2 separate regions of the Homo sapiens genome follow, and region 1 is linked to region 2. Evidence: promoter capture Hi-C in 16 types of primary human blood cells and fetal thymus (Javierre and others, 2016). All regions are on one chromosome and are shown on one strand. The core of a region is centred on a gene start or on the middle of the fragment in contact, and the rest is flanking DNA. Distances in the headings are between cores, read along the strand shown.

What was found. Contacts are between HindIII fragments. The CHiCAGO score rates a contact against its expected background, and 5 or more counts as called.
Region 1: a fragment that was not itself captured here is called in contact with the fragment with the promoter of KCNU1 in region 2 in 1 of 17 cell types (M2 macrophages); the score reaches 7.9 in M2 macrophages.

The regions. Positions count from the first base shown.
Region 1 is chr8:35,114,936-35,122,206 of GRCh38, forward strand. No RefSeq gene overlaps it. Among named protein-coding and RNA genes, the nearest start is that of UNC5D, 120 kb to the right of the region's middle. The HindIII fragment of the contact is 3,748 bases long and covers 3,322-7,069 here.
Region 2 is chr8:36,782,910-36,790,158 of GRCh38, forward strand. KCNU1 (potassium calcium-activated channel subfamily U member 1) reads left to right here and starts at 1,465. Exons shown (of 27, transcript NM_001031836.3): 1 at 1,465-1,696; 2 at 4,397-4,516. The coding sequence starts at 1,502. The HindIII fragment of the contact is 1,918 bases long and covers 1-1,775 here.

The DNA of each region.
Region 1 (7,271 bases), core at 3,946-6,445, 1.7 Mb before region 2:
GCCAGGTATTTTGTAGAATGTGTTTCAGTTGGAATTTGTCTCACATTTTTCTGATGGAGTTATGGGCTTGGGAGAAGACCAAAGACGTACATTGACATTTCGATCACATCATATCAAGGGTAATACTATCAACATGACTTATTGTTATTGACTGCAACCTCGATCACCTGACTGTGGTAGTGTTTGTCATGTTTTCTATTGTAAATCAATTCTTTGTCATCCCTTCCATACTAAAATCTTTGGAAGGAAGTCACTGCGTTCAGCCCATACTTACAGAATGAGGAGTTTTGCTCCTTTTCCTTGAGAGCAAAATATATGTATGGACTATGTGAAATTTTGTGTGGGAGGTTTGTCCATTCTGCCCCATTAATTTATTTATTTGCTCATTTCTGTATAACAGTATGAAATTTCATGAATATTTATGAGATATTGGAATATGATACATGCTGTTATTTATTTTGTTGTCCTAATTTTTTCAGCTTTAGACATGTCTCATAGTTTAAAAGAAAGTTTTCCATAAACTTTATTTTAAAAATAGGTATTTTATTTCTATATATATTTTTTATTATACTTTAAGTACAGTCATTAAAAAATTATGAGTTCATGTCCTTTGTAGGGACATGGATGAAGCTGGAAACCACCATTCTCAGCAAACTATTGCAAGGACAAAAATAGGTATTTTAAAAATAAATATTTATTGAACATCTACTATGCATAAAAATTATGCTAGGACTGAAGAAATATTAATTGAATGAAGTATTGATATCACCGTCAAGGAACTTGTAACTCTGGGAGAGAGGGAATCTCAAATAAATAACCTTCATGCAAGCAAGATACAGGCAACCCCAAACCCAAATTCCAGATCCACAAATTAATAGCCTTGTGACACTGGGCAACTCACTCCATCTTTCTCAGATTAAAAATATTCTGAAAAAAAAATTGCTTCATATAGTTATTTAGAAAATCAAATTAATATAATTTAAAGTGAAAAAAGGGTAGTAGATCACTGGTTAAGAATCTAGCCTTGGAACAGCTTTGATTCATACCCTGCCTTTCCCAATACTAGGTCCATGACCAGCAGAGCTAATTTGGACTTGTTTACTAACCTCTCAGACCTTAGATTTCATTGCCTATGAAACAGGAAAATAGAAAAAGCAGAGGATGGGGCAGGCTTGTGGGGTTATCAAGAGCTCTGATTTGTTTCCTCCAAGTTTATTATTTGTCTTAAAAGGCAGGGGATTATCCAGTGAGAATTTGTAACTGGAGCTATAGGTAGAGGAAGCACAGGCCTATGCGTGATATTCCAAGTCACCATTAGAGGGAAGGCAAAGGTCTGATGAGTAGGAGGGAACTCAAAAGGAACTATCTTTGTAAGGCTCTGTAGCAACTGCCAATGGTCTGGTGACTGCTTGAGCCCACCACAGAACAGCTTCCACTTGTTGCATGAAAACTTGCACTGAGACTCCAGACAGGTTGTAGGAAACTCTGTTCTTTGTCTGTTTTTATAATTTCAACTTTTATTTTACATTCAAGGGGTACATGTGCAGGTTTGTTACATGGGTGTACCACATGAGGCTGAGGTTTGGGATATGAAGGATCCCAGCACACAGAAAGTGAACATAGTATCCAATAGTTAGTTTTTCATCCCTTGCCCCGCTCCCTCTGCCCTCTAGTAGCCCTCAGTGTCTATTGCTCCCATCTTTATGTCCATGAGGACCCACTTCCACTTATAAGTGAGAATACTGCTTATAAGCAGTATTTCGTTTTGTTTTTCCTGCTTTTATTTGCTTAGGATAATAGCCTTTCACTGCATCCATGTTGCTGCAAAGAACATTAGTCCATTCTTTTTTTTATAGCTGCAGCTCCATGGTATACATGTACCACATTTTGTTTATCCAATCCATGTGTATAAGCACCGGGATTGATTCCGTGTTTTTGCTGAGATAAATAGTGCTTCAATAAACATACGAGTGAATGTGTCTTTTTGGTAGAATGATCTACTTTATTTCAGATACATACTCAGTAATGGGATTGCTGGGTTGAATGGTAGTTCTATTTTAAGTTCTTTGAGAAGTCTCCACGCTGCTTTCCACAACGACTGAACTAATTTAAATTCCCACCAACAGTGTATAAGTTTTCCCTTTTCTCCTAAGCCTAGCCAGCATCTGTTGATTTTTTCTTTTTTATTTTCACTTAATAATAGCCATTTTGACTGATGTGAGATGGTGTGTCATTGTGGCTTTGATTTGCATGTCTCTGATGATTAGTGATGCCGAACATTTTTTCGTATGTTTGTTGGCCACTGGCATGTCTTCTTTTGAGAAATATCTGTTCATGTCATTTGCCCACATTTTAATGGGGTTGTTTTTTCTTTGTTGAATTAAGTTTTTATGGATTCTAGATATTAGTCCTTTGCTGAATGCATAGTTTGCAAATATTTTCTTCCATTATAGCTCACTGCAGCCGACCTCCTGGGCTCAAACAATCCTCCTGCCTCAGCCTCCAGAATAGTTGGGACCACATGTGCATGCCACCATGCTTGGCCAACTTACTGTTGATTTAAATGTTGGTCTCTCCATTGGAATCTAAGCTTCTTCAGGGCAGGGTCCATATCATCATAGCCCTAGATCCTAGCATTGTGCAGATACTGAGTAAACATTCATTTAGAAAAGAATGATGAGGCTGGGCATGATGGCTTATTTCTGTAATCCCAGCACTTTGGGAGGCCAAGGCTGGAGGATTGTTTGAGCCCAGGAGTTTGAGACTAGCCTGGGCAATATAGTGAAACCCCAACTCTACAAAAACATTTAAGAATTAGCCACATGTGATGGCATGTACCTGTAGTCACAGCTGTTCTGGAGCTGAGGCAGTAGGATCACTTGAGCCTAGGAGGTAGGCTGCAGTGAGCTACTATTGCACCACTGCACTTCAACCTGGGCAACACAGTGGGACCCTGTCTCCCCTGCCCCAAAAAATGATGAATTCTGAAGATTTCATTATATAAATTATTAGGAAGCTTAGGTAGAGGATATAACAAAAGGAAACTGAACTTCGTAATCTCACTACAAACCCTCATTTCTGAGAGGTTGAGTGTGTGTCTGTGGCAATCATGATATGAGGAATGACAAGACATGCTAATTTCATTTTTTATTGTTTTATAAGCCTGCTTTTTCTTTTAATTTCTCTTTTTCTCCCACAGGAATAAATGAAGTCCCAATGAGAAAAGCAAAGTCTATTTTTTTCAGAGCTTGCTATGCCAAAGGAGTCAACCACCGTCACTTGTGTTTAAGCAGCGACTCAAAGTAGACGAAGCAGTGGTGAAGCTTCATGATGGGTGAGGATAGGTAGGCTTCAGATGTGCGCTGATTGGAGGCTATTGGCATGGGAGAGCTGTGGGTGGGCTTATCAGAAACAGGGCATCCTATTTCATTGGTTAAGGGTGCATATTTGGCTTTCTCTGGTTGGCCCTAGGTTGGAAGTAGAGACAAGAAGTAGGAAAACTGTCAGTTATTAATCAAGCCCTGGCCATCGTGGGTCAATTGTTACAGAAGTTACTGTGCAGCTTCCTGGATTGTTACTAGAGAGAGCAATCTGGCTTCCTGTAAATCTGACTTACAGCATGCTGGCTTGTTGGGCCGTTGACTGAAGATAAGGAGGTTTCATTTCCTGATCAGGTTGCTTCAGGTCATTTTTTTACAGGACCTGGTTGTTACCCATTTCTGCGTTCAGTCTCTCTTTCTTCTTGTCAACTTTTTATCTCCTTTTCTCCAAATCTTTTTCTCACTTTTTCTAAATCTTCTCTTTATATTTATGTATTTTCTTAGGGCCCAGTAAAAGTTAGGGAAGGGCAATGTGAAATGTGGTGAAGATTCAACTTATAAGGCAACAGGTTTTGTTCATTCACATCAAGCTCTGAAAATCTCTCATCTTAAAGGATGGAGAATTTGGTCAATTTAGTGATCCTAAATGTGCAATAAAGTTTGTTTTTATGAACAATTATTAAATGCCATGGTGTTATTTGGCTATATTCAAACACAACATTAAATCATTTTCTGTACAAGTCTCCCAGAAAATAGAAAACTTAGAGTCTGCAAACATAATTCAGTATTTTCTGGATGTGAGATTGAACTGAGCACACTTCAGTTTCTCTTCTCTGGACTTGCCAACACATGGAACTATTTTGAGATGAGGCAGCAGAAAAAAATTCATGTAGCCTCCAATATGTACTTCTAAAATATTTTATCTTTTTCATTTTAGGGACTCGGAATGGAGCTTAAATGTGGCCATTTGGCCTAACAGTGTTTCCTATTTGAAGATGCATTCAGATCCAAAAATTAGACTTAAAAAAAAAAAATGGGTGTTGGCAGCTGCGGTGGCTCACGCCTATGTAATCCAGCACTTTGGTAGGTCGAGGTGGGTGGATCATTTGAGGTCAGGAGTTTGAGACCAGCTTGGCCAAAATGGTGAAATCCCATCTCTACGAAAAATACAAAAATCAGCCAGGCATGATGGTGCATCCTGTAGTCCCAGCTACTTGGGGATACTGAGGCAGGAGAATCACTTAAACCCAGGAAGCAGAGGTTGCAGTGAGCCGAGATCATGCCACTGCACTCCAACCTGGGCAACAGAGCGAGACCCTGTTAAAAAAATAAAAGTGGGTGTTTTCTGTCTTTCTGGAAAATTACCAACTGGAGCAGTAAACCAAAGTGAGCTAGTGAGCATCAAGAGAAAGAAACTTGTTTAGATTAAGAGGTAGAGCTAATTTTTTATAGTACCCCTGATCTTGTGTAAAGAAGATCTATAATCAAAGAAAATATTTTATATTTTTTGTAGGTTTGCTAAATTTGTGGATCATACTTTATTATAATACATGAAATTTATTATTTTTGCACTTATTTTTATTTTCTTGAGACAAGGTCTCGCTCTTTCACTCAGGCTGGAGTGCAGTGGTGTGATCACAACTTACTGCAGCCTTGACCTCACAAGTTCAAGTGATCCTCTCACCATAGCCTCCTGAGTAGCTGGGACTACAGGTGTGACTCACCATGCCTGGCTAATTTTCTCATATATTTTGTAGAGATGGAGGTCTCGCTATGTTGCCCAGGTTAGTCTTGAATTCCTGGACTCAAGTGATCCTTGGCTTTCCAAAGTGCTGGGATTGTAGGCATGAGCTATCATGCCCAGCCGAAATTTATTTTTAATGGCATTCTTCCTCTCTTCTGGAATTTTTAAAGCCAATTAGGCATTGACATTGTTAGCTGTGAACATCTGCAGCATCTCCTCTGATCTGCTCTTTACCCAGCATAACACAGGATTTTTCCAAGGGAAGTGAGTATTGCCTTGGGTCTGTAAATCCAAGGAGGAGGGAGATAAGTTAGGCACCAGATCACAACAGTCTCCTACTGAACAAATGTACTTGAGAATAGCATTTTGGAAGGTGATCCAGCTGTGCAAGCTGAATCATTTTTCACAGCAATTTTACTAATGCTTCTCACCCCGAATTTTAAAAGCCTGATGAGTCACACTGAATGGCCAACTGCTTACATTTTCAAGCAGAACAGAAAAGCATTTACATACATAGGCACAATACATTACTAGATCAACCAAATTAACTCCTACTTGTATAACCCTTCAAACACCACACAGACAAAATAAATGGTCATTTAACCAGTAGGATCACTGGCAAATGTAACATTAAAATGTTGATTATTCTATTCCATCTCATTTTGTGCCTATGTTGTTCTTTCATGAAAGTAGTTAACCAACACCCATAAATCTGAAGGTGAGCAAAGGACGAAGTTAGGTTTCCTAATATGCTAAAATAATATCCGTATGAGATGAGACATTTTCCTGGCACAGCTTACAAAGAAAACATGCTTCCTTTAACTTAAAAGAGGAAGGGAGTGGACTAAATACTCTGTGGATGGTGCACTGAGTCTAGAAAATCTTCAGCCTTATGAGAACCAGGTTTGTATGAGGCAACTTAAAGTCTTTTATAAAGAAATAGTAATATTACTGTGTTCGAAAGGAGGAAGCAGCTTGTTCCTGTGGCCATTCCATAGCATTAGGATCATCACTCATCAGTTATGGTACATGGTACTTTTAGTCTTCAGAACATTTGGTGCATTTTATCAAATTTTCCACACATCACTAGAAGGCACAGTGGCCTATAACATCCTGTTTGTCACACAGTACTTTTGAAAGTGTCTAGGGATTCTATTTATTGGATCATCAATGATAGGAACAGAACATCTATATTTATCATCATCTCTAAAAGAACAGGGTCAGTTATTTGCCCAAGACTTGAAAGTATTTTTTATAATAATCTCCAATGAAAAGATGTGATCATTTTCCATATTCTACTTCTTATGGGCATGTAATACTTCATCACTGTGTCCTTTGCTCTGTACCCAAATCATGTTATGTGCTGTGTCATCAAACACCTAGTATGGCGTCTGACCACCCATACTCCATGTTTACGAATAATGATATCACATAAACAGGACAATGGAAATGAAATGCTAGGTAATACTATTGCAGAATCTGATAATCCGAGAGTTAAAGGCATCTTGAGGAATCACACATTCTAATGACATACCCCTTATACCAACGCTTGAACATCTCCAGCAATAGGTAACTCACTACCCTAAGTAGCATGAGGAGATGTCAAGTTCTGAAGCTGTTTGGGAACAAGGATATGAACACGCATGAAAAGGTGAGAGACAAGTCTTGACCCTTTCAAGGTTGAGAAGTAAAACTGAAATTGCCATATAAAATATGAACCTTTGTAGACCTATAGACTTAGCAAGTGGGTATACTAGGGAAACAAAACAGGCACAACAATAGGAAGAGTCACTGAAGTTTGGTTGGTTTTATATTCACTTGTGTTTGTGGTCTTCTATGGTTTGTTTATTTTATTTTGGCTTGGCTTGTATGTTGAAAAAAGCACCCCTCACTAAGAATTTATAAAAAATGCATTGGGGATTTAAATTTTTTATACCTGAATGGCTCAAGAACACCTATTTCCAAGCTAATGAAAAATACTGCTTGACCAATGACAACTCTGGGAAGCTTAGTATAAAATACAAAACCTCACAAGCATCTCTAATGAAGCCACCTAAACAGCCTTGACAATCTCAACAACAAATCATTTCATAAACCAAAATTATAAAACACATAAGGAAATAATCTATTCTAAGTGAAAGAGAGAGCTATTAAAAATTGTTTTAAAACTCTAAGATCTTTGTGTCTTTCTGGAAGAGGGAACAATA
Region 2 (7,249 bases), core at 215-2,714:
GTCAGGTTATCTTGGTAATAACTGGGGTGAACTAGGCCCTCCACTGGGCTCTGACATTTTGCCTGCCACTTGTGCACACTGAAAGGCATGACATTTCTTACACCTTTGAAAACATCAGGGAAAATCAAAGAAATTTCTCTCATTCTGAACTTTACCTCTGCTGGGCCAAAAGGTTTGCTGCCAGGGCAGTAATAAAAGCAAGAAAGGGGAGAGTTCCATAAAGAAGAGATAAGTGGAATGGATTTATGGGCTGAAATAACAATCAACCAATGACCACACTAGTTAAATTGTCTTCTTCAATACCTGCACTCTATACTATGCCTTTCTTATGTAAAGAATAAACAAAACCTTTTTTTTTCTGTTTCAAGATAATCTTGATTTTCATTGTGTGTAATTAAGGAGTACAACGTGATATTCTTTGGATTGATGCACAGCAGATACACATATTTTCAAGTCACGTGATAATTTAATACATTCACATAATTTGTGTACTTGGGATATCAATCAACTTACATATTTGTATTTTCTTTGTGCTAGAAACATTCAAATTTTTCTCTTCTAGCTATTTTTAAATGTACAATAGATTATCATAAGCTATAGTCACTTCACTGATCTATAGAACATTAGATGTTATTTCTTCTATCAAACCAAATATTTGTACCCATTAATCAACTTCTCTTTATCCAACTTCTTTCCTCAGCCACCCTTCCCGGCATCTCGTAACCATGAATCTACTCTCTATCTTTATGAGATCCACTGTTTTAGCTTCCGCATACAAGTACAAACGCAAAATGCTCTTTTGATAAACTTATGCATAGTGAAGCAGTGACTACAGTCAAGCAAATTCATATATCTATCATCTCACAGAGTTAATCATCTTTTGTGTGCGTGTAACAAGAGCCCTTAAAATCTACTCTTTTAGCAAAAATCCTGAATACAAATAATTTTATTAATTATGTTCTTTGTTCTGCACACTAGATCTTCTAGACTTATTCATTCTGCATATCTGCTCCTTTGTATAAAGGATAAACAAAAACTTTAAAGTACTTCTCTCTTCTGTCCTTCCAAGCCTACTAAGCACGTGGCATCCTCCCAGATAGAGAACCAACTCATTCACACACATAGTTGGCTGTTGTTTCACTCCGAAAGAGTTGATTTGAAATTATTTGACTGCATTAACTGAACTGATAACCAGCTGATCATTGCTACAGATAATGGGATTTCTTCAAGGCATAGAGAAAGTCGTAACAATCCGATCTAGAATTATGATTTTTTTGACTATTCATATTGTAGGCCCCAGCCATCTCCAGTTGTGTATTCATTCACAACCCATGAGCTGGCACCGGGGGATTGGCAGACCCTTGTTCCTGGAACTTCTCACTGGTTATCACGCCTAATGTTGGAACACTGTGGTACAGTGAACTCTGATTCCTGGAATTGTTACCAGGCGACCACGGCGTCATCAAATGACCTGGCAATTCCGTCTACTGATGTCTCGAACATGTTTCAGACTAAGCTACGAAATGAAACTTGGGAAGACTTGCCAAAAATGTCCTGCACAACTGAGATCCAAGCAGCATTCATTCTCTCTTCCTTTGTGACCTTCTTCAGTGGACTCATCATCCTGTTGATCTTCAGGCTGATCTGGAGATCTGTTAAAAAATGGCAAATCATCAAGGGAACAGGAATTATCTTGGTCAGTTTCCTTGTTAGGGATCCCTCTGTGTGAAGTCAGAGATGAGTTTGGGGTAGTTTTGTGTTTAGTAAAAGATCTAAGCTTCATTCAGTTTTTCAAGCTAACAGAGTCAGCTTCTATAGCCTGGTGCCTCAGAAAGGGTGGTAAGCCAGACCTCAGGCCACATTCTGAGGCCTGAAGAGACAGGGCCAAGCCTCTTCTCTCTCCCATCACTGGAAAAAGCAATGTCTTGTATGGATAATGATTAATGTTAGCTCTGGAAACAGAGGTCACTGTTCTGAAAAAAAGTTCATAAACATTATGTCCATGCCTCTATCTCGAATTTTAACAAGACAATTGTGCTAGGTCATAGAAAGGAGGTGAAAGGGAACAAGACATCAACATCAACCTTGCTTTCATAAATTGTTCATGCATAATGCATATGTACTGACGTGTACATTGCCTTTTGTATACCATATGAAGACAACACATTGAGTTGCACATACACAGAGAAGCCCATGCATACATGCCTGTGCCATCCAGGCATAGATGCAAGGACATTTCTTATACCCAAACAAGCTTAGCAGGAGTTGATGTTGTTGAATAACAGCTGGCAAATGATGATGATGAGAATAAATGATGTATTATACAGATAAGGCATTGCTTAAGAGCTTGAAATAAAGCTCTCAAATGCTGTGTAATGGATGTTCTATTACCAGAGGTCAAAGGTGAAGAGTTTTACTATACCCTGTGTAGTTTGTTTCCAATTTTGCTTCCCAAACTTTCTTTCTCTGATAGATTATAGCAATTTCCATAACACAACACATTTCACCTGTGCATCATAATATTGAAAATTTGCTTAAAACATTTCTTTTAGTGCTAAAACCTACATAAAATATAATTCATAAATTGATAAGTTTTTAAAGTTATTGGTAATATGGAATTTTGTTTTCCATATTTGAAAATTATCCAATACTGAAGCTTATAGATTTTGTTCCTAAACAAGTTTATTCTATTGATTATTTCTACATTATGGATTTTAAGCTGTGGCACAATAATTGGAGAAAGAATTCTGGGATACTGACATATGGGTAAATAGCTATGATGGATCTGCCTCCTTGTTTCTACCTTGTTTTGTTGTTGTTAATGCACAACTGAATTTGTAGGATTTTTAAATCTTCTTAGTCTTCTGCTCCAGGCAATGTTCTTCTTCTCCATTATGTTCATTTTGTGTGATTACAAAAATGTGACAGTACATTTGTCAATTTCCTATATTTTTCATTTCTTACTTTGGGTGTAATTTATGTCTACACTTCGATCCAGGTATACCCTTTAATTACAAATATTTAGCAAATGTTACAAAATGTTAAGAAGTGAGCCTGAGCAACCAGAATGCTGTACCATTCTGCTTTTGAATCTTGAGGAAAGAGTTTGATCAAGTTGAGTTACTTTTCAATGATTTGTTTTATTACATCAAATTAAGAGTGACCTGTTTTTCTCTAAGCCTTTGGAGAAGTTGGACAAATGCAAAAAAAAAAAAAAATCAGAAATCTAGGTGTACTGTGAAGAGTTATTTTAAAAATTATTTGGAGAGTTACAATTTCTCTCCTTAAATGTGCATTTAAAACATGTATTACATCTATAAATATGAGTTTATTATATCTTAGGACCAATTTGTTTTTCCACAGAAGGTAGCTCCAATTTTATGATGGAATTCAAATGAGTATTCTATATTAATGTCATACCTAGGATTTTTTAAAATTAATTCTCAGACAACATTTAGAAACCGACATGAGTCATGTTTATTAGAGGGCAAATCATTGATCAGGATGTGAACTTTTATCAAAGAGTTTTTTAATGAGACTTCCCTTTTTATCATTCAGAAAATATGAGTAGAAAAATTAAGTGATTTTGAAATCCTGGCTTCATATAAAATGAGCTTTTTTGAAAGTCAGAGGGACTCATCTAGCTTGGTGTGGGTAGTCCTAGTTGGTTTGTGTATTTCTTTGTGGTGGTTCTAGACTATTATCAACAAACAATGAATGCCAGCTCAGGCCCCAGCCTTTCCTCATTGCCTGATATTAGGAAAGTCATTTAATTTCTCTATACCTTGGTATCCACATCAATATAAAATGTATTTAGTCATGCCTAACTTTATCATATGAGATTACCGTAACATTTAAATATAATAAGTAAAGACATTCTATAAATGTGAGGAAGGATTATAATTTCAGAATATAACACCAGGCAAAAAACTAAGAGCAACACAAAATTGCTGAAAACTTCCCCCTTCTCTCACAAAATGCGGACACTTAAGTAATCAGCTAAAAAATCAATTTGTAATCTTTTTCTCTTTGTCCACGTATCTTGATGAAAACTGCTACACTTATACCCAGAGCAGAAGGAGGCATGATGCTCCCAATTCTGATCATTGCAATGATGGCAGTTTGAAGGGTCTGGGACCGGGTATACATGAGAAAGACATGGAGGAAGACTGCAGAATTCAGTAGAAAAAAAGCTGTGCAGAAAACCAGGAAAATGCAAACCCAGTAAAATCCGTTTTATGAAATATTGAATAAGCAACTTCAGGGTTCCCTGGTTTGGACAAGGTGGAGTGATTTTCGACTGATACCATCACAAGAGGCTCCATCAACGTAAGTAGAACAGATTTCTTTCTCTCAGATCCAGCTCACATTGTCAATTTCTTTCTCTTGATTGTAGGAACTGTTCACATCAGGTACCATCGCTAGGAGCCATGTAAGAAGCCTCCACTTCCAGGGACAATTTCGTGATCATATAGAAATGTTGCTTTCAGCCCAGACCTTTGTGGGGCAAGTGTTGGTAAGTACATTTTCAGTGTTAGCTTGCTAACAAACTTTAGCCATAGGTGTGATTATAGTCAGCACAAATCAATTGATTCCCTAGGTAAACAACTGACGTTCCTTTGGTCGTCTTATCTATAATATCACCACCTCCCCATCCCCATCTCCTTGTGTCTACCACTCTTTACCCGTTATCTTGCTTTGTTTATCTCTGGAATGAATACGATTACTAATAATTAGATTATATTATTATAATAATTTTATAATATTAATATAAATCATATGATATGTTGTTAATAATGTTATATTATTAATAATGTATAATACATTATCCGTAATAATATGTAATTGTATAGAATATTATATAATTATTAGTAATTATATTCTTACTAATTATAGTTAATTACTAATTATATAATTATATATTTATAAATAGTAATATATATTGACTAATTATATATTTATAATTATATAATTACTAATTATGTATTATAATCATATTTTATATTTATTTTCAGTCTTTCCACTAGGAAGAAAGCTTTGTTAGGGCAATATTTGTGAGCGTTTGGTTCTCCTTATATATGCAGATGGGTGTGCACATAGATATTTTCAAAAAATGTTTAGTAAACTAATCAGACCTGAAATGTATAGCTAGTTTCCTCTCCTTTGATTTCAATAGACTCTTTATTTCATTATGCAAACTAGCCTTTAGTGTCCCTCTATGATATTTATCACTCTACTTCCTATTTTAATCTCGGTAATTTGAATGTATTAAATCTCACTTTGGGCATCATCTTCTCGGGGCATCCTAACCTTACCTCTTTATTAGGCTAAGAGTTCCTCCTCTAGCTTCTTTAATAATCGTTGAGCATTGCTATTAAAATTATCTGTGCACATGCTTGTCTCTCCCAGAGTACAGTGAGCTCCTGTCTAGACTATGTCATGGAAATGTTTATTTCCCATTGTCAGGAAATAGCAGATGCCCTATAAATGAAGATTGCCCTGATCCTCCTTTCAGTAGTGTAGTTTGATCTAAAATATGAAAAGATGAAATTTGTAATTAGGGGTATGCTGCCATCAGTTGGTCTTATGGTGGAAGTAGTTTCATGTGAGCTAAAGATTATCCTCTGTTTTTTATAACTAGCAAAAACATGGCTCTTTTCCAGTTACTGTTTAATTCTGATCTAATAAATTACTAAAGCTTGGTTGGAAGTATTAAGTAAAACTGCTTTCATAAAAGCTGCAGGGAATGTTGAATCATCTGGAAATGTGCCTCTCCTTTTTCTGTCTTCCGAAGTTTTTGATCTCTTTTCCTGAAATCTCTGTGGGTATGACCCATTGAAGAAGGATTTTGTAATTCTCTCTGATGATATCAGGGATTTGTTGGTTAGGATCTCTTCAAATGTTCAAGTCATGTTTGTGTGAGAAACTTTGGGAATAATATATTAAAGGTCACTAGGGTGAGGGAGAAGGGAACTTACAACATCCATCATATGAGCATTGCATATGGGAAGTGGGTGGGAAAGGAATGATGAAAAATTACATACCAATAAAAATGACTTATTTAATGAAGGGAAACTGTATTATTTTAGCCTATAACAGCTGGTGATTAGCTAGTTGGAACAGCAGGAGGCAAGGAGTAAAGCTTAGATTAGAATAAATGCTCTAGGCCGGGTGCAGTGGCTCATGCCTGTAATCTAGCACTTTGAGAGGCAGAGGCAGGAGAATCGCTTGAGCCTAGGAGATCAAGACCAGCTTGAGCAGCATAGCAAGACCTCACCTCTACAAATAATTTAAAAGTTAACTCAGCGTGTTGGCCTGCACCTGTGGTCCCACCTACTCAGGAGGCTGCGATAGGAGGATCGCTTGAGCCCAGGTGGTCAAGGCTGCAGTGCTGCAGTGAGTTGTGATCATGCCACTGCACTCCAGCCTAGGCGACAGAGAGAGACCCCATCTAAAAAAAAAAACACTCTAGCATGGAAAGGCATAACTGAGTCTCTTAGAGATCCCAAGTACAGTTTTAAGTTCTCTTAAAATGTCTTATAGTTCCTTCCTTCTATCCTTCTTTCCTTCCTTTGTAATTCTTTTACTTCTTTCAACAAATATTTATTGTTTGCCAAGTACATGCTAGGCCAACACTCTAGGTATAGTGGAAAGTTCAAGCAAGAGACTTGCATTTAAGAAACTTAAATTCTAGTGGGGGTAGATACGAAAATTACATACATACATAAATAAGATAAATTCAGATGAGGAATGCCATGAGGGAAATATGAGTGAAGTGTTTGTGAGGTATGGTTGTTACAGAGTAAGATCACAGTGGTGAGAGAAAAAAATCTCTAAAAAGGTAAGATTTGAGCTAAAGCATGATAACAAAGAATAAAGCAATTGAAGAATTAAGGAAATAGAGTTCCAGATTGAGAGAATAGAATTGCGGAGGCAAAGAGCTCCACAAGAGTTTACTGCAAGTACCAGAAGGAGGCTCCTATGCTAGGGACATGGAGGGCAGGGGACAGCGAGGTCTGAGAAGAGACTGGAAAATGGCACAGTGTCTTAAGATTCATAGGGAAGAGCTACAAGACTCAAAGGGAATCACTCTATTCTAAGGTAAAGGGATGTCTGAGATCTTAAAGTATGAGTTGACATGGTCTGATTATATTTTAAGGTTCAAGAGGCACTAAAGGCTGAAAATAAAGGAACTGTCAAAAGTAAGCCAGGAAAATGATGGTAGAAATTAGGAATACAGTTTTAATAT